Regions from separate parts of the Homo sapiens genome. Here all the other regions are linked to region 1. Evidence: promoter capture Hi-C in 16 types of primary human blood cells and fetal thymus (Javierre and others, 2016). All regions are on one chromosome and are shown on one strand. The core of a region is centred on a gene start or on the middle of the fragment in contact, and the rest is flanking DNA. Distances in the headings are between cores, read along the strand shown. Region 1 holds the start of NCOA7-AS1 (NCOA7 antisense RNA 1). Region 2 overlaps ECHDC1 (ethylmalonyl-CoA decarboxylase 1). Region 3 overlaps ECHDC1 (ethylmalonyl-CoA decarboxylase 1). Region 4 overlaps ECHDC1 (ethylmalonyl-CoA decarboxylase 1). Region 5 overlaps RNF146 (ring finger protein 146).

Evidence for each region. The method cuts DNA at HindIII sites, captures the fragments that hold promoters and counts their contacts. A CHiCAGO score of 5 or more calls a contact.
Region 2: a contact is called between a fragment that was not itself captured here and the fragment with the promoter of NCOA7-AS1 in region 1, in 4 of 17 cell types (M2 macrophages, M0 macrophages, M1 macrophages and 1 more). The highest score is 16.4, in M2 macrophages.
Region 3: a contact is called between a fragment that was not itself captured here and the fragment with the promoter of NCOA7-AS1 in region 1, in 2 of 17 cell types (M0 macrophages and M1 macrophages). The highest score is 5.8, in M0 macrophages.
Region 4: a contact is called between a fragment that was not itself captured here and the fragment with the promoter of NCOA7-AS1 in region 1, in 1 of 17 cell types (M0 macrophages). The highest score is 7.0, in M0 macrophages.
Region 5: a fragment that was not itself captured here is called in contact with the fragment with the promoter of NCOA7-AS1 in region 1 in 1 of 17 cell types (M1 macrophages); the score reaches 6.3 in M1 macrophages.

What each region holds. Positions count from the first base shown.
Region 1 is chr6:125,816,420-125,821,847 of GRCh38, reverse strand. NCOA7-AS1 (NCOA7 antisense RNA 1) reads left to right here and starts at 2,990. Exons shown (of 3, transcript NR_126386.1): 1 at 2,990-3,038. The region is part of intron 2 of NCOA7 (nuclear receptor coactivator 7); the gene reads right to left. RefSeq lists an enhancer at 3,264-3,765. The HindIII fragment of the contact is 4,548 bases long and covers 1,516-5,428 here.
Region 2 is chr6:127,336,467-127,341,894 of GRCh38, reverse strand. All of the region lies in intron 1 of ECHDC1 (ethylmalonyl-CoA decarboxylase 1), which reads left to right. LOC105377994 (a long non-coding RNA gene) reads right to left here. Exons shown (of 4, transcript XR_001744334.2): 3 at 3,026-3,095; 4 at 236-408. Among named protein-coding and RNA genes, the nearest start is that of ECHDC1, 4.4 kb to the left of the region's middle. The HindIII fragment of the contact is 3,511 bases long and covers 475-3,985 here.
Region 3 is chr6:127,317,173-127,322,600 of GRCh38, reverse strand. The region is part of intron 3 of ECHDC1 (ethylmalonyl-CoA decarboxylase 1); the gene reads left to right. It overlaps LOC105377994 (a long non-coding RNA gene), which reads right to left. Exons shown (of 4, transcript XR_001744334.2): 1 at 1-5,428. It also overlaps the pseudogene RNA5SP217. Among named protein-coding and RNA genes, the nearest start is that of ECHDC1, 24 kb to the left of the region's middle. The HindIII fragment of the contact is 1,662 bases long and covers 2,011-3,672 here.
Region 4 is chr6:127,297,950-127,303,377 of GRCh38, reverse strand. The region is part of intron 5 of ECHDC1 (ethylmalonyl-CoA decarboxylase 1); the gene reads left to right. Among named protein-coding and RNA genes, the nearest start is that of RNF146, 34 kb to the right of the region's middle. The HindIII fragment of the contact is 1,869 bases long and covers 1,897-3,765 here.
Region 5 is chr6:127,281,255-127,286,682 of GRCh38, reverse strand. It overlaps RNF146 (ring finger protein 146), which reads right to left. Exons shown (of 3, transcript NM_001242850.2): 3 at 1-67. Among named protein-coding and RNA genes, the nearest start is that of RNF146, 17 kb to the right of the region's middle. The HindIII fragment of the contact is 1,288 bases long and covers 1,953-3,240 here.

The sequences.
Region 1 (5,428 bases), core at 1,741-4,240:
GTACAGAATTATTTCTGCATTCATTTCTATCATGGGCAACTGCTCTTTTCAGACAACATGCAACCTTAGGGAGTAAAGTGGATCACTGTAATGCAACACCCTGACTTACACAGGTGAAGTATTACAGACTGCCTGCTTCCTATTGTCTTGGTAGGTTAATACTCTGACATTAACCATATTATAGATGAATAAGTTGATAAGACATGGATTATGGGATGTTGTCAAGTTATAAACAAATTATTTTTGAAAAGGTCGCTTATAAGTTAGACCTTTAGAACCTATGATGCATTTCTCCAAATTAATTTACACTGGTGTAAATTAATGTTCAGCTGTCAAGACTGCCCACAGAAATCTATGCAACCCACACTGTGAGTAGCAGCAGGTCAGGTGACCTGTGTTCTATAAGCCCCGTTTTGCAACTAAAGGGGCACATGGCAGCACTGCAGAGCATAAGCTCTGGATGGAGAAGGGAAGACCTGAGTTCAAATCCTGACACGCCTATCTTATCTCAGTGAAGTTATTCAACCCCTTTGAGTATAAATTATCATAGCAGTCAAATTATATTTAGGGATGAACTTTTTTTAAATCAGATGTTTGGTATGAAGATAATCTGGATCACTTTTTACAAAAGCCTTTTTCATATCAAGGCATGCAGAAAGATGATAATACTTCTACTCATCCCTGGGGTAAGATGCTGATCATAGCTAAAGATGACCAGCCCAGGTCTCTGACAAACCCAATCCCTGCCTGGCCACTCTGAGGACCAAGGGGGCCAGTATCACTGGCACGCCGCTTGACATGACGGTTCATCAAGCCACTCAAGTGGTGAGGCTCTGATTACCAATTAATATATCTAAAAGTACCCTGGGATAGAGCCAGCCTATCATGGACCCTTTCACCTCATGGGCTTAGGGTCCAACTGTTAAATAAAAGACTGTTAGGTTTCTCAAGGCCCTTTGACTATATAACTCCACTTCATTATATCCCAGAACCTAACTAACTGTGCTTATAGCAAAGTATCTTTGGGAAATGATATGGTTCCAATTTGGATTGTCGTTAAGTGTTCCTTCTTCCCTGATCTGAACAACAGGAGCAGCTCATGGGCTGAAAGTGGGAGGTCAAGATGAAAATTAGGTGAAGATGTAGGTAGACACAGAAGTAAGATCAGGAATGATTTGTTATTAAAGGAATGTGTGAGTACTCACTGTATCAGGTACTGTTCGTATATTACCCTCAATCTTCATAGCCATCTTGGTTTCATTTTACTTGAACACGAAAGCTACAAAGTGTACTATTCACACAACAGAGAAAGCTATACAGTGGGTTCAAATCTCCTCTGCCATGGAAAAGAGAATAAGGGGACCAGCTGTTCAGCTCTGGCCCTCCTTGCTGGGTCCCATTTGAGCTTCTCTCCAGTTCTGGCTGGTTGGGATGTCTCCTTCTTCAAAAGCATCTTGTTAGTTGGTTATTTTTAGCAACATTTAACAACTGAAGAAATGTAAGGTAAAGGAAGCTTAGAAGACTTGCCAGAGGTTATACACTGGAGTGAACTGCAAACACTAGGTGTTCTGCTTGTGGGTCAGAGGTTCAAGGGTGAAGAATTGCCAGGGCAGAGGCTGGAGATGGGAGCTAAGAAATGTTCTACACTTTGCATCCTTTGTCACTGAGAATGATGACAGAGGTGGTGCTGGCTCCTACTGCTGCTCTGAAAGGCTGGGTTAAGAGGAAAGCGGAGGTGGGAGCAGCAGTTCTGCTTTTCATGACAACCAGGGAATAGGGGAGGTGGGAGCCAACAAGGGACCTACATGAACACCCAGTCTGTGTCTTCGTCTATATTACTCACTGTTTACTCCCAGGCTCTCACACCTTATCAGAGGGGAAAAGTAAACCTCCCACAAAACACCATTTGGTTCAACTACAGATGTATTTTGGATATCTTCAATCAACGCTTGATCCTGAAAAAATGCTTTCAAAGAATCTTCAACCAATGGCATACAAGGACCTACTCGGAAATCACAAAAGCCAAATAATGTCAAGCAAGTGTGTAAGAAGACAGCCCTGTATGGCAATACTAAAGAAAATTTTGCATTCTAACTACAAGGGGAAGGAAGAGTCAGCAGGGGTGTAACAAATGACACATGATAGTCACCCCAGAGGATAGCATAAATTGTACACAGTACAAATAGTACAGAAAGTATAATTTGCTTTAGTAATTCAGTTTTTCATTTGGTTTTCAAGACCTGTCAGGGATCAAGAAATTAATATAGACATATACTAATTTTGCATATATAAATTATTTGCAAAACCATTTGTGAAAAAGTTTCACAAATCATTCAATCTAGATTTAACAACTGTTATAAAACTATCCTGAAGCACCTGAAAACCAGTTGGACCAGGGTCAGAAAATCCAAAAAATTCATCAGGTCTTATCCAGAATTACTCTATCTAGTAGCAGTATTAATCCACCCCTCTATTTAGAGTTACACAGGCATATTTCAAGATAAATTATAAGAAAGGAAAGACTGGGTGACCCTCAAATCACTAATTTCAATCCAAAATTATTAAAATAGGGTATTTTAAACTCTATTTTGATGTTAAAGAGCGAAACGTCAACAAAACAGGTTTGGCAAAGGACTATTTATCAAACACAGTCACACAACGATTATGAAACCACATGATAAGATAGCACACAAAGAAAACATTGGCTATTTAACTACTCAGGAGGAAAAACTAGGTGTTCCTAGTTTTTCCTAGGTGGAAGGGGGAAGCAGGCTAAAAAGCAGTTTTTAGGGTTTCAGATATGTAATTGTGGCAGCAGGCACAGCATCAGGGTAAATCTTCCTTTTGACTTCCTCAGAACACCAGTTGAGATTTATGTAAGGTGGTATAATTTAGTTTAGAGAAAACTGAGATTGCATCAGTTTGGCCTCACCCTTGGCCTGACATTTTATCCTTCTCTCCAGAGATCTTGCTTGGACTGCCCTTAAGTACGCTGCTCCAGAGAACTCTGCTCTACATTGTCAGAAACCAGCTTTCAAGTAAGTTCTGTTGCTAGTTCCACATGGTAATTCCACAGTTAAGTCAGAAGGCATTTGAAAAGATGTATAACTTTGGATGGCTCTTTTCTGATTATAGGCTGAAGGGGGTTCTTTTCTCTTTGGTTTGCCTTTTGCTTTTAATAGCTTGACCATTTCTGGCTTCCACTGCATTGTAAGAGCTAAACTACAGGTTTGTCAGTCAGTGTTTCTCTCTCTGTCTCTTTCTCTCTCTCCCTGCTCCTACCCCCTCTTCTCTCCATTCTCCTCTCTCCATCTCTCTCATTTCCTAGTTACAAATCATGTTGTCTTACTGTCTTAAGAGCATCACTGATTTCATCCTTGTGCCACTGTCCCTATGCTCCCAAGATCACATTTCAGCATTTTAGGATACGTTTTTTGTTTCATTTTTAGAATACTTTTCAGAAGAGGTCATGATAAGCAAGACAATTTTACATTTCTGAGTTGAAAAAACTGTGCTGCTCTTCCAGAACAGTTTTGGTTTGTATTCTCAGTTTCAGGGGCTCCCCTGACTCTACATTTTAGGAACAAGAAGAGGTTAACATTGAGCAGGTTGTTCATGAACCGGCAGTTACCTTTACTACAGGAATCACTTTGGATTCAGGCTGAGAAGGCACTATAGCTCTTAAAATCACTATGTAGGGCAAGTGAAGAAGAAAGAAAAGAAAGAAGAAGAAAGTAAGGAGGAGGAGGAAGGAGGAGGTGGGAGAAAGAAGGAAGGGGGAGAAGCGGGAAGGGGGAGGAGGAAGAAGAGGAGGAAGAGGAGCAGGAAGAGGAGCAGGAAGAAAGGGAGGAGGTGAGGAAGGGAGACGGGGAGGAAGGGGAGGAGAAGCATGACCACCATTTTGACCTAAACTCATATCTTATCCACAAATAAATTCAAAATGGATCACAGACTTAAATATAAAACATAATGCTATAAAATTTTCAGAAAAGAAAAACAGGAGAGAATCTTCAGAACATACAGCTAGGCAAAGAGATCTTAGAATTCAGACCAAAAGCACAATTCATAAAAGGAGAAACTGATAAATTGAACCACATCAAAATTAAAACCTTTTGCTCTGCAACTCTGTTAACTGGATGAAAAGACAAACTACAGTCCGGGAGAAAATATTTGCAAATCACATATCCAACAAAAGACTAGAATGTGTACAATTCAACAGTAAAAACCTAAACAATTCAATTAGAAAATGGGCAAAAGATAGGAAAGGAGATGCCACTAAAGAAGATACACTATGGCTAATAATAAGCACATGAAAATGTTAAACTTCACTAACCATTAAGGAAATACAAATTAAAACCATAATGAGATATCACTACATACTTATCAGAATAGCTAAGATAAAAATAAAAAATATTGACACCACCAAATGACAATGCAGACAAACTGGATTACTCAGACTTTGCTGATGGGAATGTCAAATGTTACAACCATTCCAGAAAAGAGTATTGCACTTTTTTATAAAACTAAAAATACACTTATCTTTTGACCCAGCAATTGCACTCTCAGACAATTATCTCAGGGAAATGAAAACTCATGCTCATACAAAAACTTGTACATAAATGATTGTAGCATCTAGCATCTTTGTTCATAAATAGCCCAAACTGGAAACAACCTAAATGCCCTTCAATGGGTAAATGACTAAAAAGCTGTGATTCATCCATACTATGGAATGCTACTGTGCAATAAAAAGGAACAAACTATCGATACATGCAACAGCTTTGAGGGATGTCAAGGGAGTAATGCTGAAGGGAAGAAAAAGCTAAATGCCAAAGGTTACATACTATATGATTCCATTCACCTAGTATTCTTGAAATGACAAATTATAGTGGTTGTCAGAGGAGGCAGGCAGATGGAAGGAGTGAGTAGGGATACAAAAAGGTAGCATGTGGGATCCTTTTAATGCAACTGTTCTGTATCTTGACTGATGGTGACCACAGAAATCTACATGTGATATAACTGCATGGAACTAAATACACACAAACACACATACAATGAATGCTCTGAATAAGGCTGGTGGATTGTATCAATATGAATTTCCTAGTTGTGATACTGTACTATGGATAAAGAATACAGGGTATCTATTACTCCTTACAACTAACTACATGTGAATCTAAAATTATCTCAAAATAAAAACTTTGGAGATCTTATTTATTCTAAATATCCTATCTTTCTGGTGCCTCATCCATTAGATGCCTGATGTCTTCCTTCCCTAATCTGGTTACTCTCTGTAGTCATAATAGCAGAAAATATTTTACTACAATTGGTAGTTTAACTTGTGCTTCCCCAAAACCTTATTCATGATTTACTATTCCTAACTGGAGCATGCCTTTTGGAGATGGCCTTATGTTTAATACTGACTCTTATGCTG
Region 2 (5,428 bases), core at 981-3,480, 1.5 Mb before region 1:
ATATACAGACAGTCTGAAATCAAATGCTTCTGATTTCTATTACGTGCTCTAGGCTAATTGTTTTCTTTTTAAGTATGAGTTTGCGTTAGTCTTCTGGATTTAGTGATTACAGTATAAGGTGAAACAGGTAAAGGCTTTTAGAGAACATCTCACTTATTTCCTGTGCACTAAAGGGAAACAGATCACCTTTGCAGAACTTGAAAAAAATGGGAAGTGCGACCTTTGATCTCAGATGGACTTTCTTTCCTCTTTTCAGTGGCTTGGTAGTGAGCTTGTTCAGCTCCACTGAATCTTCTTTGTGGTGGGGCTGCAAGACATCCTGCATGGCAAGTTTTAAACATAAGTTTTACCCCGAAGAAAGCTTATAAAATTGTAAATGCTTCAGAACCTTTTCATCTTCCTGTGATTCTGGAAGAAATCCAAAAAAAACCAATCGTTTAACTACATACTTCTACAGAACCTGAATCTTAAGCTTTGTTCACTTTATACTATTAGATACTATAGTAGGTTAATAATGACTAACACCTTGTCATCTCATCACTGAGCTTTTGTCTAAGATAGTCTCTGAATTTAGAACTGGGACGAAAGTGTACATAATAGGCTATTATAAAATTTTTAGAATTGGATTTCTAAACTTGGGGTCAGTGAATCTAGCAGGCTTAAGCAGTGTTCTCAGGTTTTTCTGGCACAGACAAGGAATATAAGAGGAGGAGAGAAAAGGAGAGACAGTAGTGGGAGGGAATAGAATGAGAGAAGATAGAAAATATGGAATTAATAGAGAAAGGATACATGAAGTATTACAAGATTTTCTTGGAAAAATTGGCATTTCAGTGATGGATCAAAGATGTCTAATGAGGCAAAATACTACTATTACTTAAATATTTAATGTTTTAAAGATTTGAGGATAAAAGGATATAGATCTGATGGCGTTCATACTAATTGCTGTAGTGTTGATGTTGGAGAGAGGGGTAATGTATCAAGACAGAGCAGACAGACCCTTTACAATGAGAGCAGAAGATATGTTGTTTACTGATTCTACTTTCCCACAAAATGCTAATGCTTTTATAAGTCCCTCCTCCTTATTTTCTAGATTAACTCCTTGTTTCTTCCTCTAAACAGAGGATTATGGCAGACAGGCAAAAAAAAAAAAAACTTTTAAAGCAACTATCTAAGTCCTTACCAAGTTTCTTTAGCACTTTTATTCTAAAGTTATCAAGGTGGAAATTGGGGCCTCTGCCCCACATGTATCTGCTTCATTGGGTTGTATCTTCATACCTGATTAACGGCATATTCTAGGCAAAAGCAAGACCCTAGGCATGCTATGTTTGGCTCTGAATATGTAGGCCTCCCAGGTTTATTAGCTGAACTGGTACATGACCTTGACAGCTTATTTTCCCTAGACTAGAAGCATTCCTAAGGAACCCTGAGCTCTAGGCTATTTGGCCTTCTTAGAATGGGACACTTCCCAAATTGAAGGCAGCCCTAGGTTGCAGAGAGGAGAGAGGAGGGAGAAAGGGAGAGAGGGAGAAAGCAAGTTCCCTTCATCCTCAGTAAATAGAATGAAGAAGGGAAGGACACAGTGAGTCAAGTCTTATCTCAATACCTACTGGGTAAATTGCCTCTCATTCTGAGAAAGTTATAGAAAATGCATCAGGTTATCCTTAACTCACACCTAACAGTCTTGTGAGAAAATCTGTTCAAATAGTTAAAGTAGGAAGAATACTACTAACTAGACCCTTATACGATATGTATTATATGTAGATATGTAGAATGACTTTGTATTGTCTATTAACCTCATTTCTTAAAAAGTGTCAATATTTTTATTAGTGATCCAATAGAGATTATGTTGCATATAAACCCATTTTGTAAATATGAATAAAACCAGACAAGGAGCTCTTGCCTTCCCTTTCTGAAGAGGAGCAGAGATTCCTCAGCTAGGAGTGATGGAGAAGGTGTGGCTCTTTGGCAAGCTGACCAGAGGCCAGTGAAAGATTATTTATTTATTTGGCTGACTATGATACCCTCACTTGTAGCCACACCCCCTGGGTTTGCATTTTTTAAAAACCCCAACAGTGAAATAGTTCTTTTTTCTTTTTCTTTCTTTCTTTTTTTTTTTTTTTGAGACAGAGTCTCTCGCTCTGTCACCATGGCTGGAGTGCAGTGGTGTGATCTTGGCTCACTGCAATTTCCGTTTCCTGGGTTCAAGTTATTCTCCTGCCTCAGCCTCCTGAGTAACTAGGATTAGAGGTGTGTGCCACTACACCTGGCTGATTTTTGTATTTTTAGTAGAGATGGGGTTTCGCCATGTTGGCCAGGCTGGTCTCAAACTCCTGACCTCAGGCGATCTGCCCACTTTGGTCTCCTAGAGTGCTGGGATTACAGGCATAAGCCACCGTACCTGGCCTGAAATAGTTCTTTTTTTCTTATTTTGTAAATATAGATATTATCTTTAGTTTAGAAAATGATGACTAGGTACCATAATACCTATATAGTAATAACCACATTATGTGTCATTTAGTTCCACAAAAATTTAATGTAAAATTCTGCGTTAAGAGCTGTAAGATGCAGTCCCTGTCCTGATCACCCCTAAAATGCTACAGCTTATCTCGTATGTACCTTTCTGTTATGTTTTCTGGTTGTGCATGATTTTTTAAGAAATATCATTACCTTTAATAAGGACCTTTGCTTAGCTGCCAGACTTGTCAACAAAGAAATTTCAGATATCTATAGGCTGTAATTATTGTTAGTGGCTACTGATGCAATATGTAAAGTAGAGGTCTGAAGAAACTAGTTTTGCAACTGGCAGTTTAGGAGATTGGAAGGAATTCCTGAACAGGACATCTGTCAATATTTGGAATGATACTCTTCTATTTAAAAAGAAAAAGTTTCCTGAGAAGTAAATGTAGCACACATACCTAGAGAGTAAAATGTATAAGATGAATTTAAAGAACAACAACAAAAGAAATAACTGTGGATGCATTATCTAGGTTAAGAAATAGAACATACCCGTATTTTGAAACTTAACTTTTTCAGTACTGGTTAGGTGACTCAACTGGTATTTTTCTTCATTCATCACATCTGTGTTTCTTTTCTTTCTGGCCAAATGCAATGTAACATAAATTTCAACTCAGTGAACAAAAGTCATTTGTTATAGAAGTAATATATAGCTGTGAAACACTAGTATTGCACTGTTTCATAACCATAAAAATTCTGGTTACACATATGTAGGATAATTCTGGTTTTATATATATGTATGTGAGTATATACATTTGATATTTACTTTACTCCCTAGCAGAGCTGGTATGTTGCTTGATTTTGGTTGTGCTTCTGCTTAGAATTTTAAAAATTAGAAAGAAGGGCAATAAAGCATCATAATTCCATGCACTGATTTAATGTTATTGGATTCATTTATACCTAAAGAAAATCCTTAGACTACATGATAAAGGTTTACTGGTGGAAAAAAAAAAGATATCCTTTTATGAAGTTAAGATTATACATTAAATTTAATGGAACTCTCTAGTAGAGCTCAATAAAAGGAGATACTTTGCTCTATTTTCAATTAGATATTTGAGTTATTTTTGCTTTATGTGTGCATATTTTGTTTCTCTGACAAAACTGAAAACTTTTAAAGATGCTTTCTCTCTGAAATCGCTAACAATGGGGTGATCACTAATAGGAATTCAGTAAATAGCCATTGAATTGCTACAGAACTACCTCTTACCAAATGCTCTTAACATATGCATATATGTCTATACACTTGGATCCCATTTCTTGGCCAGAAAAGTCTACATATAAATGTAAATTTAATGGTCCATATGCCAAGAAACTAATAACTGTTTTTATTTCTGAGAATGCAGCTAAATATCTACTTACCTACTTTAAATAATCCAGTGAAGAATACCATCCTGTTTGAAAATATTTGTCTTAATTGCTAATCCAGTTACTATGTTTTTAAAAATTTGCCTTTAAAAAAGTAAAGAAAGCTTCAGAATTCATTTTGAATGATATATTTTGGTATATTTCCTATTTTTCTCATAGACTTTGACCACTGAACTTCGGTCTAAGGGTAGTGAAAGGGGAGGTGAAACAGAAAGAATAATGGTTGAGTATGGGAGGGTTATGATTATGAATGGAGATTACAAACATAAATACATCCTGTCATGAGAATATAGGTGTTGTTGATGCGAACAGTCAAACTCTGTAAAATATTTTAAGAGATTTATTCTGAGCCAAATATGAGTGACCATGGCCTGTGACACAGCCCTCAGGTCCTGAGAACATGTGCCCAAGGTGGCTGGGGTACAACTTGGTTTTACATATTTTAGGAAGGCATGAAACATCAATCAAATACATTTAAGAAATACATTGGTTTGGTTCAGAAAGGAGGGACAACTTAAAGCGGGGGTGCTTCCAGGGTATAGGTAAATTTAAACTTTCTGGTTGACATTTGGTTGAGTTTGTCTAAAGACCTGGGATCCATAGAAAGGAATGTTCAGGTTAAAGATAAAGGATTGTGGAGACCAAGTTTTTTTGTGCAGAGGAATCTCTCAGCAGACTTCAGAGAGAGCAGGTTGTAAAATGTTTCTTATCAGACCTAGAAGGGTGCTTGGCTCTTAGTTGATTATCTCCTGGATCTGGAAAGAAAGGAAGGAAAACAAAGCGGGAAGGGGAGGCTCTGTAGAATGTGGATTTTTCCCACAAGAAACTTCGCAGGGCAATTTCAGGGTATGGCAAGGAAATGTATTTAGGAATTAAATATTTTCTTCTTGTCTTAGAATGTTATGCCAGAGTCAGATTGAAAAGTAAGTCACAATATACAGGGTTAAATAAAACCCATCTGATGAGAATTTATGGTTTGTAGGGCATGACTCCCCAGACCCCTTAGGTGGGAATTTGGGCAAGATTAAAAAATCAGAGCTTAGTCCTCAGTGTGGTTAACCAATTTGTTTCAAGCCCCATTGCTTGGCATTTCTCAATAAAGTCTGAAATTTTTAGTTTAAGTTGCTTCCACTAGCTAAGAGATTTTGAGGCAACTTGATATTTACATTTGAGTGATAACTTAGAAAGTGTCTAAAATCCTTGGTGTTTTTTTCATAACCACTTCACACTTTGTAATTGGTAACATTTTATTTGTAAAACTTTTCCCCGCTTCCATTTTCCGTAGACTTGAATTTTCTATGCTTATCACTTTATTTCTCCTTCAGGGTAAAATATTTAAAAATACAGTTCTGTGTGCCTTAGAGCAAGAAAACTCTCAACCACAGAATTTGTCCTTGCCCAGGAAAGTTTTGCTTTCCAGTTAAAGAGAGAGTTTATTTGACCAGGATAGCTCATTTTCCAATAATGGTAGATAACTAATGGTAATAATTTCAGAAATACTTCCTTTCCATAGACAGAACTTTTACTTCCCTTTGGGAAAGCAGGGAAA
Region 3 (5,428 bases), core at 1,592-4,091, 1.5 Mb before region 1:
CATGCAGGAAAACATGGAGAGAGTTTTTATTCCAGCTTCAAATAAGGAATCACTTAGTAAAGTTCATTCTTTCTAGTACCTACATTCTCCAAGTAATCTGCTCTTTTCAGTGCCTGAAGTAAATCTTGGTTAACAGCTGAGGAGTAGTATTACTGCAAGTGTTCGTCACTTGTTGCTGTATACATCTGTCAGTCTTATCAAGGAAATGTGGAATGGTGAATCTGCTTTACAATGAGTATGCCTAGAACTCAGAATCTTATTTTATTTAAAACATTGATCTCGTTTTATTTTATTGAGACAGAGTCTTGCTCTGTCACCCAGGCTGGAGTGCAGTGGCAGCGATCTCGACTCACTGCAACCTCCGCCTCCTGGGTTCAAGTGATTCTCCTGCTTCAGCCTCCTAAGTAGCTGGGATTACAGGCGTGGGCCACCATGCCCAGCTAATTTTTGTATTTTTAGTAGAGACAGGGTTTCACCATGTTGGTCAGGCTGGTCTCAAACTCCTGACCTCAAATGATCTGCCCTCCTCGGCTTCCCAAAGTGCCAGGATTACAGGCATGAACCACCAGGCCTAGCTACTTTTTTGTTTGTTTATTTTGAGATGGAGTCTGGTTCTGTTGCCCAGGCTGGAGTACAGTGGTGTGATCTTGGCTCACTGTGACCTCCACCTCCTGGGTTCAAGCAATTTTCCTGCCTCAGCCTCCCAAGTAGCTGGGATTACAGACACCCGCCACCACACCTGGCTAGTTTTTGTATTTTTAGTAGAGATGGGGTTTCACTGTTTTGGCCAGGCTGGTCTCGAACTCCTGACCTCAGGTGATCTACCTGCCTCAGCCTCCCAAAGTGCTAGGATTACAGGCGTGAGCCACTGCACCTGGCCCGACGTCCAGCTATTTGAAAAAGCATTTTATAGGGTAGATGAATTCTTTATTATCCTTTAATGAAATCTCTGAAGTCATAGTATAAGAAATATATAGCATAAAAGTAAGCACTTTGAATATGGATAATTTTAAGAATTGTAACAATACATATAAAGTATGGAATGTGTTTATCACATTATGATTTTAAAATTAACAAGAACTAGAAATAGTTTATGTAAAGTTCCCGATATTTCCATGTTTCCTATAAACTATATTCCTATATACTTGAGAAGGAACTATAAATCTGTGTAAAGCTGAAACTTAAAATGGCCTCAGGACTTTTGAGGCTTATACATGTATTATATATGAGTTACAGCTGCAACATATAAATGCATCTACCCCTCATGGCTGAAACATTCTGAAACTTATCATGGCTTTAAGTTATAAACAGTTTGTCTGTTAGTGAGGCTCTTCTTTATCCAAATACTTACTCTTTGTTGTTACAGATGCATCACTAGCATCTACTTACTTGCTGAATTTGCTTTCTGAGGATGATGAGATAACTGAAATATATGACAATTTTAGCAATTAGATTATATTCCCTTCTAATAGTGATAAAATGCTTGGAAGTGATTAAGTGGCTTTTTTATCATAAAAATATAATTATTTTGATGTTTTTACTACTGTATTTTTTCAGTTTTAAAAAGCTTTTTATTAATGTAAACTACAAAATACAGGTAAAAGCAGAGACTAATACAGTGAAACCCTCATGTACCCATAAGAGCATCAACCCTATCAATATTTTATTATATTTCTTATCTATTATTCCACTTTTTTTTTCTTTTAAGTGTAACTGATCCCATAAGAAGTTGATCGCGTCTTGGTATGCTTTGGTTATTGTGCAGGAAAAGAGCTCCAACTGTCCCTATTAGGCAGTTAATTCTTGGTTCAGATGGTAGAGGCCAGGAGATCCACTAGGATAACACAAACATTAACCCTGCTGAAAAGTTATGTATTGGAAAGACAAAGGAATAAAATAGAAAAAAATATATTTAAATATTAAGACTTGGATTTGATGCCACAGATGTCCTGTAGGCTATAAGAAGTTTCTTTTCAGAGGGAATAAGTAATCAAAGTGCAGTTATAAGCTTCAGAATATGGAGAAATAAAAACCTGCTTAGTCTTCAATGGATCAGTATAATGCCTCAAGGAAAAGTCTGGCATTTAGAAACCTTTCTGTTCTTAATCTACCTTGAAGACTATATCCTCCTTTGTCCCTTAACTTTCCTTGTTACTTTTCTCCCAATCTATTGTTCCTTCGATCTCTGTTGCTTATGTTTCTATGGTGACCTCAAAGTTCTTGTCTGACTTCCTTGTGTTTGCTACTACTATTGTACCATACCCTGATTAATTTACAGACAAGCGGCCAAGCACGGTAGCTCACACCTGTAATCCCAGCACTTTGGGAGGCCGAGGTGGGCAGATCACCTGAGGTCAGGAGTTCGAGACCAACCTGGCCAACATGGTGAAACCCGTTTCTACTAAAAATACAAAAATTACTTGGCCATGGTGGCAGGTGCCAGTAATCCCAGCTACTCAGAAGGCTGAGGCAGGAGAATCACTTGAACCCAGGAGGTGGAGGTTGCAGTGAGCCAAGATCACGCCACTGCACTTCAGCCTGGGAGACAGAGCAATACTCTAGCAAAAAAAAAACTATTTTAATTTTCTCTAAGCTCTTCCATGTATTTTGAGGAAATTAATAAATCCATACAACAAGCACTTAAGAAAGGGCTTATTTTTGTTTCTAAATAAGATACTTCTACAGGCTGGGCATTTTTCCACTCTAAACATGGCTTAGAGTACATATGATGTTAATCATTCCTTTTGGCATTTTGGTTGAGCATTGTTCTTCTTATCCTTGTTTTATGAGAAGGAGCTAGAGGAGTAGGGTTGGATCTCAGGTATCATCCAGATAGCATGAAAATATCACTGTCTGCAGCAACTTTGAAAACCTTGTTTTAGTACTTCTCAGCTTCCAGCTTTTATACATTAGAGCAGGTCTAGCTTTTTACTGGTTCCTCACCCACAGCTTACTCTATCACAGATATCTCTTACTGGCTTATTTGCTTTCTTCAACCCAGTGAGAGGACAGAGCATTTAACCATTGTGGGCTTAATAACTTTGGAGGACAAATTTAATGAAATCTTTCTCATCTCTAGGGCATGTTGGCCATTACTGCTTAAACTTCTGTTTTATGATACACTTAAAACCAAAACATACTCATTATCTATTGCCAGTATTGTTAGTAATATTAATAATAATGATAGATAACTTTTATTCTCTTACTGTATGTCAGACACTGTTCTAACCTTATTTTGTGCCATAACTTAATCATTACTAGCTCCCTTAATAAAATATATACTACTGTTAGCACAATTTGCAGATAAGAGACTGTAGGACAGAGAGGTTAAGCAGCTTGGGCAAAGTCAAACTAATTAGAAAGTGCTAGAGCCCAGATTCAAATGTAGGCAGATTGGCTTTAGAAACTGTGCTCCTAACCGTTTACTTCATACTGCTTCTAATAGACATTTTTAGCGTGCCTTTTGTCTTTTGAATGAAAATTATAATAGTACACAGGCTAATAATTTGCTTCACCTTTATTTCTACCAATTCTAGATACTTCATTGGAATTTTATGTAATCTAAATGTAGCAAGAGCAAATATGCATATTAAAATTACTTGATATAGGTAATAGAACAGATTTTATTGGAAAGGTTTTTAGCAGAGAATAAACCAGTTTACTTTGAAAGCTTTTTAGCTCCTCGTGCCTGTGTTAATTTTCTCATCACTTCGTGAGATACACTGATCTTCCTGATAACAGCTTTGGATTAGGAAATTCCTTCCACATTGGCTTTTACTTTTTCTTGACTGCATTTGTTTTATAAATCAACATAGTTCTCCATCTAAAATTCATCTAATTTTTTTAAGTTCAACAAACACTATGTGCAAAACATTTTACTAGCGTCTGAGGAGGGGGAAGGCATACTGTCACCATCAAGGGACTTACTGTCTAGACCTAGCAAATGCCACCTTCCCTTCTCCTCTCTAAAGCCTGTCTAACTACCCCCATCCCAATTGAAATGAATAATTTCTTCTTTGACACTCTTCTGAGTTTGTTCAAGCACTTTGTATAATACCTGTACTTTGATAGTTGTATTTCTGTATCTCTGGCAAAATTATTGAGAACTTCTTAGGTTCTCTAGTCCCCATCTTGTAGAGATGATGTGTCTGATAATGCATCTAAACACATATTCATACAACACAATTTATAAGTACTATAATTAAGGCATAAAAATAAAAATACTGTTGAAACACAAAAGAGAAAATTGTTATTGTGAGATTTAGAAAATCTTGATGGAAAAATATTATATGATCTGGGCATTCCTTGAAATAGGTAGAGAGAAGGACAGCCTATTACAACTAGTAGGAATGATAAAAGCAAAGACACAGGAGCCACAATAAGTGTAAGGTGTTAGAGGGATGGCAAATAGTTTGTGTGGTGAAATTAGGATGCTTGGAGGAGGGGTATGGTAATCAATAAAGTTGATAAGATAGTTTGGGATCAAGTGGCCTTGCCAAGAAATTTAGGTTTTATTCTATAAGACATCATCATCCTACAGGAAGGTTTATCAGGTAGCAGGATGGAAGATTATATTTAAGAGGAAAAAGAAATTAAATACAGAAATCAGTTAGGAAGCAAAGCTGTTGTCTCCAGCCATACCACCCTGAATGCACCCAATCTTGCCGATCTCAGAAGTTAATCAGTGTTGGGTCTGATTAGTCCTTGGGTGGGAGAAAGCAAAGCCATCTTACTGTACTAATCAAGGCTTGAGTAACACAGGTATGAACTAATGCAGCAGCAGCAAAAATATAAAAGAAGGGATTGATATTTGAAATATTTCTAAGGTAGATCCGAGGGGAAGTACTTGGTAACTAACTGAGTGTGGGAGAATTGTGAAACGGGAAAGTCAAACATAGTACCAAAAATCTGAGCCTTATTGACCGCTAGCTCAGAACTCTTACACTAACTTTTTCCACTAACACAGAACACTTATGCAATCTTTTATAGAGTTTCTAGGTATATTTTCATCTTTCTAAACATCCTTTAAGTCAAATAGTGCAATTTTTTTTAATTTCTCATTTCTTATGAATGAGGAAACTGAATTACGTAGTCATGACTTGCTCAATTTCATGTTGTTATTAAGTGGCAGCACTAGGATTCAAAGTCAGTTCTTTTACTTTCAGTTGGTTTTGCCGTGCTGAGTTTGAGGTGCTATCAGAATGTGAAAATGTCTAGTAGATTTTAGCACTTTATATGGAAGTAGATGAGACTTCCAAAAAAAAGAAATTATAAATAAAGAACAGAGAAAATCATGGATTAGAATTTTGAAACTGCATGGATTTAGGGGATTAGCTGGATAAGAAGAGCCAAGGAAGAAGACTGGAAAAGAACAAACAAAGAAATAAGAGAACCAGGTGTGTAAATGTTGCTAGAAAGTGAGAGCAAA
Region 4 (5,428 bases), core at 1,582-4,081, 1.5 Mb before region 1:
ATTAGCACTTTGAATTTCCTTCAAGAACTTTCCTGTTGTATTCACAACTTGGCTTTTACCCTGAATTTTATGGTAATTACTTTCTTGCTTTCCTTTATAGTTTTATAAGCTAAATATTCTATAATAAATATATTTTTTATTTTTTTGACTTCATATAAATGGCATCATATAGTAGTAGAAATAGAATGAGAAAAGTTTCAGTATGCTAACTTATGAAAAACAGTAAATTTTATATTAATTTTTCTTTTTATAATTTATGACTCAGGTTTCAATTCATCAGTTAAAATATGTCACTTCATGCTCACACAAATAGAGATTTTCTAGTTTTTTTGGTATATAAGACCGTTTACAGAAATCCTAGCCTCTTGAAAACTAGTGTTCAATAATGCACAAAATTCTTATGCACAATAAAAAAAAGTTATTTTATATGACAGTGCCCTCTGCTGTCATCAGTGCAGATTGCATTAGAATGCTGCTATTATTACATTTTATTCTGCGAAGAGGAAGCAGTCATTGGCTTTATGCTTGATATGAGACTAAACAGGAAATGCTGTATGTGTGAAAGTATTAAATGCATTCCTCACTTTACACTGAATACAGGTAGTTATGAAATATATAATTTCAATACATATATAAATATAAAACGTACATCTAAGTATATAATTAAAAGAATTTTAAGGCTGGGCACAGTGGGTCAGGCCTGTAATTCCAGCACTTTGGGAGATCGAGGTGGGTGGATCACCTGAGGTCAGGAGTTCGAGACCAGCCTGGCCAACTTGGTGAAAACCCGTCTCTACTAAAAATACAAAAATTAGCCGGGCATGGTGGCAGGCGCCTGTAATTCCAGCTACTCAGGAGACTGAGGCAGGAGAATCACTTGAACCCGGGAGGCAGAGGTTGCAGTGAGCTGAGATGGCGGCACTGCACTCCAACCTGGGCAACAAGAGCGAGACTCTGTCTCAAAAAGAAAAAAAAAAAGAATCTTAAGCTACATGCAAGTGTGCATTATTACACTGAAAAATCCTCTGTGTAAAAGGAAATGAAAATTAAGACTTTTTAGATGTTATTTGGAACAAGTGAAAACCCTCTAACATAGATTCCGGTGTTCACCTTTATTAGACTTTTGTACTATTCTTCATATTGATTTCTCATCTATGTTTAAGTGTAGTTAGGGTTTAGGACAAAAAAGCACAATAGCAGGAAAAATAATCAGAGATTATTTAATCCTTTAATACTGCTAAATTGCCTAGCTGTCATTCTCTAATTGAAGAAAATGTAATGCATCCTAGAGCTTCATTAAATATTTAATTTTATTTGTTACAAGATGTCTGAGGGTACTGCCTACTCTCAGTATCTGGATATACCAGGTGCTTTTGTTGAGAAGCTTCTGATGAAAACCTATCCATTTTTGAACCAGCTTTTCTGAAAGTGGTGTCTGTTTATTAAACATATTTCAGCACCCACATGTGCTAGGCACAGCCATTCACAAACCTTGTGTCTTGGTTTTTTGTTTCATTTTTCTAGTAATATGTTTTTGTTATATTTTACAAAATTATTGGTCTGCAATCGATTAGAAAGTTTCTTTAAAAATGAAGAAGAAATTGATCCTTGACCAGAGAAATTTGACAAGCACTGTCCTAGGCTACTCAGCCCTTTTAAAACCCGCATACCAAAAGCAACTATAGTTCTTAAATGTTAGAGGCTAATAGAGAGGATTGCATACTGAATGAACTACATTACTAGCCCCAGTTTCCAGGAAGTGATAAATCAGTACAAGTTCCTCTAGCTGATTTTTTCCACTTAATTTTATCAGTACCTCATCAGTTACTTTCTATGACAGATTATTTTAATTATTTCCTAAGAATGTCTGCTTGTTCTAAAAAAACACCGAAAGCTTTCATAGCGTTTGCTAAAAAGATAAGTTCCTTCTTTATATGTGTTGGCCCTTTTCGCTTGTTTAACTTTCTTACCTTGGAGAATTGCCTGGAATTCACTCAACTGACATTTTCATCCATGCCAATGGAAGTACTTCAGCAGATGGAGATACACTTAATATGAATATATAAAAGAAATGAACTCATGTAGCATTCTAACACTGTCCCCTTCCCGCAAAACCCTGTGAGCACCAGCTGGTAATAGATGTAATGTATACGTATGTCGGAAACACTCAGTTCTACTTTGCATAGATAGACCCTCACTTGAGTCATACTTTTCATGTAAAATATTCCAAGAGAAAATGGCTTTTAAAAAACATTTTTAAAAGTAAAAGACTAACATGAATTAAAAATTGGTATTTTTCAATGGTCAGAATCTAGTCAAGCATTATGTTTCCATTTTAGTGACAAAATTAATGTGAGGAAATGAAAAGCTAGAAATGTGGTAATATAGCCTCTCATTTTTTAATCCACCTTGACAAATTAAAGATATTTAGAATGAAATATAAATTAAGAAAATGCTAATACATGTAGTTTTCTATTGCTGCTATAACAAACTACCACAAATTCTGTGGCTTAAAACAACACGTTATTATCTCACAGATGTATAGGTCTGAAGTCTAGCTGGGCTCAGCTGGTTTTTCTAAACCTTGTCTCATGAGACCAAAATCTAAGTGTCAGTTGCAGTGGGCTCTGAAGACTCTAGGGGAGGATTCATTCCCAGGCTCACCCAGGTTCCAACTGGTAGAATTTGGTTACATGCACTTGAAGGACTGAAGTCCCTGTTTCCTTGCTGCCAGATGGGGGATGAGTCTTTGCTCCTAGATGCTTTCTGAATTCTTTCTCATGCTTTCCATGTGGCTCCTCCAGCAGTGGTGAGTCAAGTTCCTCTCATACTTTGAATCTCTCTTATTTATCCTTATGCTGCATTTCTCTGACTACAGCTGGAAACATTTCTCTGCTTTTAAGTGTTCTCATGATTAGATTGGGTCCACTCAGTTAATCCAGGATAATTTTCCTATTTTAAGGATTTAACTTTAGTTACATCTGCAGTCTCTTTTGCCATGTATGGTAACACATGCACAGTTGCCAGAGATTAGGTCATCTCTTCGGGGCCAATCTACCTACCACGTATGGGCTTGGCATAGGGAATTTAATTGTCAGATTTGTTGCTAACTTTTATATTTCTGTTTGATTGCCAGTGAAAAGTGCTAACTTTGTTACTCTAAGTTAATTTTGTAAACTGTATTTTTATTTTTTTAAATGCTTGCTTAGATGCTTTTTAGAAAACAGTAATAGTACCCACATACAGTCATGTATTGCTTAATGATAGGAACACATTATGACAAATGTGTCATTACGTGATTTTGTTGTTGTGCAGACATCATAGTATGTAGCTAAACAAACCTAATGATACCATCTAGGGTGCAGCTTACTACATACCTCGGCTATATGGTATAGCTTATTGCTCCTAGGCTACAAACCTGTAAAGCCTGTTACTGTATTGAATACTATAGGCAGTTGTAACACAATGGTAAGTATTTGTGTATCTAAATGAAAAGGTACAGTAAAAATACTGTATAAAAGATAAAAAATTGAATGCTCATATAGGGTATTTATGGTGAATCGAGCTTGCAGGACTGAAAGTCTCTCTGGGTAAGTGAGTGAGTGAGTGGCAAGTGAATGTGAAGGCCTAGGACATTACTGTACACTTAGAATGTACTCCTTTTACTTTTACACATAAAAAATTAAATGTAAACAGCCTCAGGCAGGTCCTTCAGAAGAAATTCCAGAAGACAGTATTAACTGTAACTTTTGTACTATATAAGCTTTTTAATTTTAAAAAACTTTTTTATTCTTTTGTAATAGCACTTCATGTAAAACACAAACACATTTTACAGCTGAACGAAAGTATTTTCTTTTTTTATATCCTTATTCTATAAGCTTTTTCTATTTTTATTTTATTCATCTTTTTTAAAAGTTTTTTTTTTTTTTTATTAAAAGCTAAGACAAACACACACATTAGCCTAGGCCTACATAGAGTCAGGATCATCCATATCATTGTCCTACCCCTCCACATATATCATTGTCCTACCCCTCCACATCTTACCCCACTGGAACATCTTCAGGGGCAGTAACATGCATGGAGCTGTGATCTCCTATGATAATAATGCTGTCTTCTGGAATTCCTCCTGAAGGACCTGCCTGAGGCTATTTTACATTTAATTTTCTACATATAAAAGTAAAATAACACTCTAAAATAACATAAAAAGTATAGGTCAGCTGTGGTGGCTTATGCCTGCAATCCCAGCATTTTGGAAGGCCAAGGCAGGAGGATTGCTTGAGCTCAGGAGTTGGAGACCAGCCTGGGCAACATAGTGAGACACAAAAAATAAAAAAAATAGCCAGGCATGGTGGCACACGCCTGTAGTCCCATTCCTGAGGGAGGATGAGGCAGGAGGATCGCTTGAGGCCAGGAGGTCAAGGCTGCATTGAGCCATTATGGCACCACTGCACTCCAGCCTGCGGGACAGAGTGAGACCCTTTCTCAAAAAAAAAAAAAATATAGTACAGTAAATACCCGAACCATTAACATGGTCATTTATTATTATCAAGTATTATGTAACATACATAATTGTATGTGCTATACTTCTGTACAGGTAGCAGTGCAGTAAGTTTGTTTTTAACAGCATCACCACAAAAATGTGAGTAAAGCATTGTTCTATGACATTACAATGGCGATGATGTCACCAGGCTATAGAAATTTTTCAGCCCCATTATAATCTTATGGGATCATTGTCATACAGTCCATTGCTGACTAAAATGTTGTTATTCAGTGCATGACTGTATACCTTATTTATAAAGGATTCTCTGATATAGACATTATTTTAAACATAATTATACCTGTAGTATGGATGGTTAGCTTGGTTTCAAGATCAAGATTCCAGAATGTGCTTCAGGAAGTACTTAAAACACTCATTCCTTGATTCTACTTTCTAATTCCAGTTATTCTAAAAACATGGGAAAATAGAGAAAAATCTCTCAAAACTACCTTAGAAAATAGAAAATGACAAACTCAGACTGCTTGGCTTTTAGCATCAACTTTTGGCAAAAAAAAGCATGTACACATTTTTATATGTCTAATATTTAATATTTTACTATTGAATTTGGTGTGAGAGAGAAACTGGAATTGTATTTTTTAATTTTTAATTTTGAAATAATTACAAACTTGCAGGAAAGGCGTGACAGTAATACAAATAATTTCCCTGTGCCATTCATTCAGGTCCAACAATTTTTAACATTTTGCTATTGTGTTTTATCTTTGTGTATCATATATTTTTTTCACCCAGACTAAGGGTAAATAAAGTATTGTACTGTGTCCAAAAGTTACTTACATTAGTTCACTGTTGTTTTTGTTGTTTCTCCTTCTTTGATGTTGAAATGGTCTGGGGTGAATGGTCTCGTTGTCTGAGGTGTTATCCGAGCTCCTTGTC
Region 5 (5,428 bases), core at 1,347-3,846, 1.5 Mb before region 1:
CTCGTTCGCTTTCCTGTTTGTAGGAAGCATGTTTATTGAATGATCAATTTCACCACAGCCAGCCATCCTAAGAAAAAATACATATAATATTAAAGTCATGTTTTAATTCTTGCAATATCTTAATTTAACAATTATGAAAACACTAACCACCTATGATGTGCATTATATGCAAGCCACATACTAGACAATGGGGATATGAAGATGAAAGTAGAGGAAAAACTCTCCAACCGATGAAAATTTTTTGTAAGCATCTACTTGTACATACCTTGGGAATGTATAAAAATTCCATCAGTGCACTTAACAGATCAGCCCTGGAGAAACACACTGAAGAACTATATAATGAAAAGCTGCATCCAGTGAGGGGAAAAGGATACCTTGAATCATGGCAGCTATTATACAGTGAAATGAATGCTAGACAAGAAATCTAAAAATCTGAGTTTTAGAGTCCTTTATTAATTATGTGCTCTTAGGCACTCAGTTAAACCATTAGTCTAAATTTCCTTACCTGCAAATCAGAGTTTACAAAGCTCAGGTAAAAATGGACAAAAAAAGTGCTTTGTAATCACTAAAGCTTCATAAAGGTAACAATCATATAAGACCAAAGGAGAAAATAACATGAATATTGAAGATCCCCTGAAGAGGAAGAAGAAAAAAGATTTGTCAAATTGGATGTATCTAGCTTAAACACTGACATAAAATTTATAATTTCTGCCTTATTGATTCAGATAAACATTTACTAAACACCTGCCATGTTCCAGATACAATACTAAGTACTGATGGGTCTAAAGATAAATAAGACACACAACTACTCTGTTAAATAAGGAAACATACATGCAGATAATTACAATATGGCCTGATTCCTGCGTAATCAAAATGTGTTAACATACTTACTAAAATAACAGTAAGAGAGAGATGAGAGGATGGACATAGGTTAGAAAGTTTAGTGTTCATTCAGAGGGGCTGGGCAGTGGAGCAGATTCCAGGCAGAAGCACATGCAAGACACTGAGTCAAATAGTCATACAAGCAATGGAAGAGCAGGAGATGAAGGTGTAAAGGTAATCAAAAGTTAAGTCATGAAAGCCTTATTGTGTTATTGTGCCCTGCCAAGGAAACATCTAATTTTTTTCCCCATGGTAAAAAAAAAAAAAAAAAGACATTTTAAAAGGGGAGAAAATAATGGAGTAAACCACTGATAAGTAAAAAAGACTGAGAAATAAAGATGAAGATGTCAGAGATTGAAAGCTTAAAATGAATGACAATCTCTCTGCCAGCTAATTCTGCCATTCTAAATGGGTCAGTAGTTACAAAAGATATAGTCAACAAGAATGCTTACGCTCATCAAAAATTGAAAAACAATAATCCTAGGCTATCATCACAGCACATTCAATCTTCAAACAATCCTTTTTTTTCTTTTTACTGCCTTTTCTGTGTTCTTGGTTCCTCAATAGACAAGGCTCAAAAAGATGGCAATTTTCTAGTAAAGGAAGCAACACAGTAAGTTTTTAAAAAGATGGCACATATCTAGTAAAGGAACCAACACAGTCTCAATGGAAGAACTGATCACTAAAATGTTTAATTTCCAAATTATTTTCAACTTTTAATAACATTTCCAATCAATTCCTTTACCAGAAATTCTAGGTTATAGACATCAAGAAAGTACAACTTTCTCCTAACCTATGGAAAGTTCTAAGTCAGGGGTGTCTAATCTTTTGGTTTCCCTGGGCCACACTGGAAGAAAAAGAATTGTCTTGGGCCACACATAAAATGCATTAACACTAATGATAGCTGATAAGCTAAAAAAAAAAATCACATAATGTTTTAAGAAAGCTTATGAATTTGTGTTAGGCCGCTTTCAAAGCCATCCTGGGCCACATGTGGCCCACAAGTTGGATAAGCTTGTTCTAAGTAAACCCTAATAGGACGTCTTAGTATGTTAAGCACTATAAAAGCTTTCAAATATTTTGAGATAAACACTTGCCTTCAAAGATCTTGTAACTTGAAACAACAATAAGTTACAAAAGAAGGCATATGTTTTTAAAATAGCCAATTACACATTCCCTGCCTATTTCCTCCCCTAAAAGAATTGGCTGTGCACACATTTTGTTAGGTTTTCAGAAACTTTCATCCCTTTCGATTTAGGTCAAAAAAGTTAGTTTCCATAAAATTCCTGAAAATCTTTTTGTTCCAAGTTCCATATTTATTTAAAGCTCCAATTAAGAAAAAGAAAACAAGAAAGTGATCCATTTACAAGTAATAATTTAAGAAAGATTCTACTCATGATTCTATTCATGAGACTAAATAGAAAAATGGGCTGATGACCACCATTACTTTGGAAAAACAACAGCAACATCTTCATATAAGAAGTCTACATCTTAAACCATCTAAGTACCTTATGAACAAAGGACAGGATCATAAACTGAAAACATAAATAAAAACAGAGTCTGGTAAAATGAAAACAAGACACCCAACATGTCACGTGGACCAATGCCATGCTTTTAAATACATAATTCCAAACCTATTGTATTTGCTTTAAGTAAAATGGGCCCAAGAAGTCAGTTTTCCATCACATACAGCTCGTTTATCTACAGAAAAAAAAGTTTCCAACCTAAAAACATTATCCTCCACCCTACTTAATATGATTAATATTTTGCATGACTCTTACTCTTGCATTTATGAATAAACCAAAACACATAATTTCAAAACTAAGAAAGCAATTACAATCATCCCAGGAGAAGGCATGAATTATAATAACATAATTGGAAAGGCAAAACAATCCTGTTTGTGCAGGTATTTTGGTTCCATCATCAGAATGAAGTGAAGTTGGACAAAGTTAATCTGCAAACAATGGACACCAGACAGCTAAATGGTCATTATTTCATCTGAAGCACTCTTAACTATCAATTTGCCATAGCAATTTATAAATTCTGATTCTGTTTAGCCCATCAAGTATACTGTTAGTCTATCACCAACTAACAAATGGGCAGAAAAACTTAGTGATATTTCTTATTTAATTCTGAATGAGGCACATGCAATAAGTAAGATAGAGATAAAATGTGTAACAAGATAGACACAAAGTAACCCCAAACTGCTAGTCTACCTATAAGACATACTTCAAGGCTTTTTAAAAAACCATTTTAATCTACCCTACACAGTCTCTGTTTTGCAGTTCCAATGATCTTAAAATAGGTGGGAGACTAAATGTATGCAGATGATCATACCAATATGTAAATAAGAAAGCTTTTCCCCTCCCTTTGTGTAGAGCAAGTATTAATGCTAATCAAAAGAGGTATTCCCTATCTCATAAATGTCTCAGAAAATTCTAATTTTGAAAAAGGGAATTTATTTCCAGTTTACTAAACTAAGAATTTAATACACAGAAATTTGGAGTGACGTTAGTCCAATTCTATTAATAAGTATAATACATCATTTACTTTCAAAGACGTTTTTACTGAATTCTTCATGTGATATTCCAACTTTTAAGTATAAATCCCCTTCTTCCAATAGATAAACCATGTGAAATATTTCTGCCAGACTAATAAGAGTCTATTAATACTAAGTCTTCTTCTCAAGAAGACAAAATATAGAGGGGTATGGGCAGAGTTAGTGGAAATCTCCAAGAACTCAGATTTCCTTGAAACTTCTTGGACAACTAGTCAAATGAAAGGCAAAATTATTATAAGCAAAAAAGATCTTTAGTATGTGTAGTATTCAAGAAATTTTTAGCTTGCAATAAAAACTCCAAATATTAAAAATCAGATTTTTAAAGTCTGAATTTAGAATCCAATTACAGACACACAAAAAGGGAACAATCCTACATATAATTTCAAGGGGCTTAAGGATTTCTATGAAGCTGGTCCACATATGAACCACTAATGAGACAAGAGGAGTTCACTGAAAGGTTTTACGTCAGGAAATAACAGCCAGTTTAGTAGCTTCCAGACCATTTGAACAGCAGGTTGGAGGAAAGTTTGGTAATGCAGGAGGAGGTATGGCGAAAGGGAAACTAGAATATCCAGGTAGTAATGCAAGTATAAGATAATTAGAGGGAGGTTGCTGATGTAAGTTTCCAACAATAGAATAGAAGAATGCTAAGGAAAAAGAAATGAAAGCATTTGATTACTGATGGATGGTGACACATTCACCAAAATTCAGAATTTGAGGAGAGTTCTGTCTCAGACATAATGACTTTATTAAGGTCTCCAGGTGGAGATAGGTAGATGACAGCTGAATTTACTAGTTTGATACTCCAAGAATAAATCTGAGCTGAAAAAAGTCTGGTGACTCACCAACACATACATGGTCCTTGGAGCCATGAAAATGAGTAAATGCCCAAATTAAACCTGTAGAGAGAGCAGTCAAAAGGGCCAACCACAGAATCTTGAATTACTCCAATATCTGTGAGGTAAAATAGCCAGGAAGGGGTGTAAGGAATGGTCAGAGAAGAACAGGAAATAAAGATAGACCACCACCACAAAAGCCAACAAGGGAGACATTCGCAAAAAAGAATAATCAAGCAAGTTACTCTAAGTGACAAAAATTTCACCATACAATTCACTTTTGTGTGGTGCAAAAGTTGTGAACCCCACACACTTAATAGCTATTTTGATTTCCTAAACACCATCAATCCCAGTAAACTTTTACTCGGCCAAGACATCTTTCTTTCCCTATTCCCCAGAGACTATCATAAAACTTCTCCCTCCTAGTTTATCGATATACTAACACCTGTATCACTGAGAAATTAGGTAAGTCAAAAATAAATCCTGAAAATCTATCTTTACCTTTACTGTCTTATCATTATTCCTCCTGGCTCAATATGGGGTACTGCTACTTGTTTACAAAGCTAACCCCTCAACATCTAGTAAGTACTGTCCCCTAACTCCTCCAAGACTGATCAATATACTCTGTCCCTAAGTATCAAAATCAATTAAGATTGATTGTATGTTAAATAAATGTAAAATCTGGTAATATAGTAAGTACTAAATAAATGTTCACTCCCTGCACTTATTTTGAAGTCTCTTTCTCCTACCCTGCCTTCCCACATATTACTGTTCCCTGACTCCTCTAAAATGTGTTGATGATTAGGCAGCTGTTTCCCTCCTCATTCCCTTGGCTTGAAAAATATTTCCTAATTTTCTTTGACTGTTAAAATTCTACTCATTCTTTGAAGGCAAGGTGAAACTTATTCTGTTCATTCTGAACCCTTCAGATGAAATTAATCTCTTCCTCTGTTCAGTTTCAATAGCATCTGATTGTTACCTTAATATGGCATCTATTCCACTGTTTGTTAATTACATACATGTCTCATTTACTGGATCACAGTAAGTTCCTTGATGACCAGCACCTAGACTATCTGACCTATTAAGATTTTAAAAAATGTATACAGATAGATAAATGGACAGGATTAAATAAAATATATATTTTTAAAGA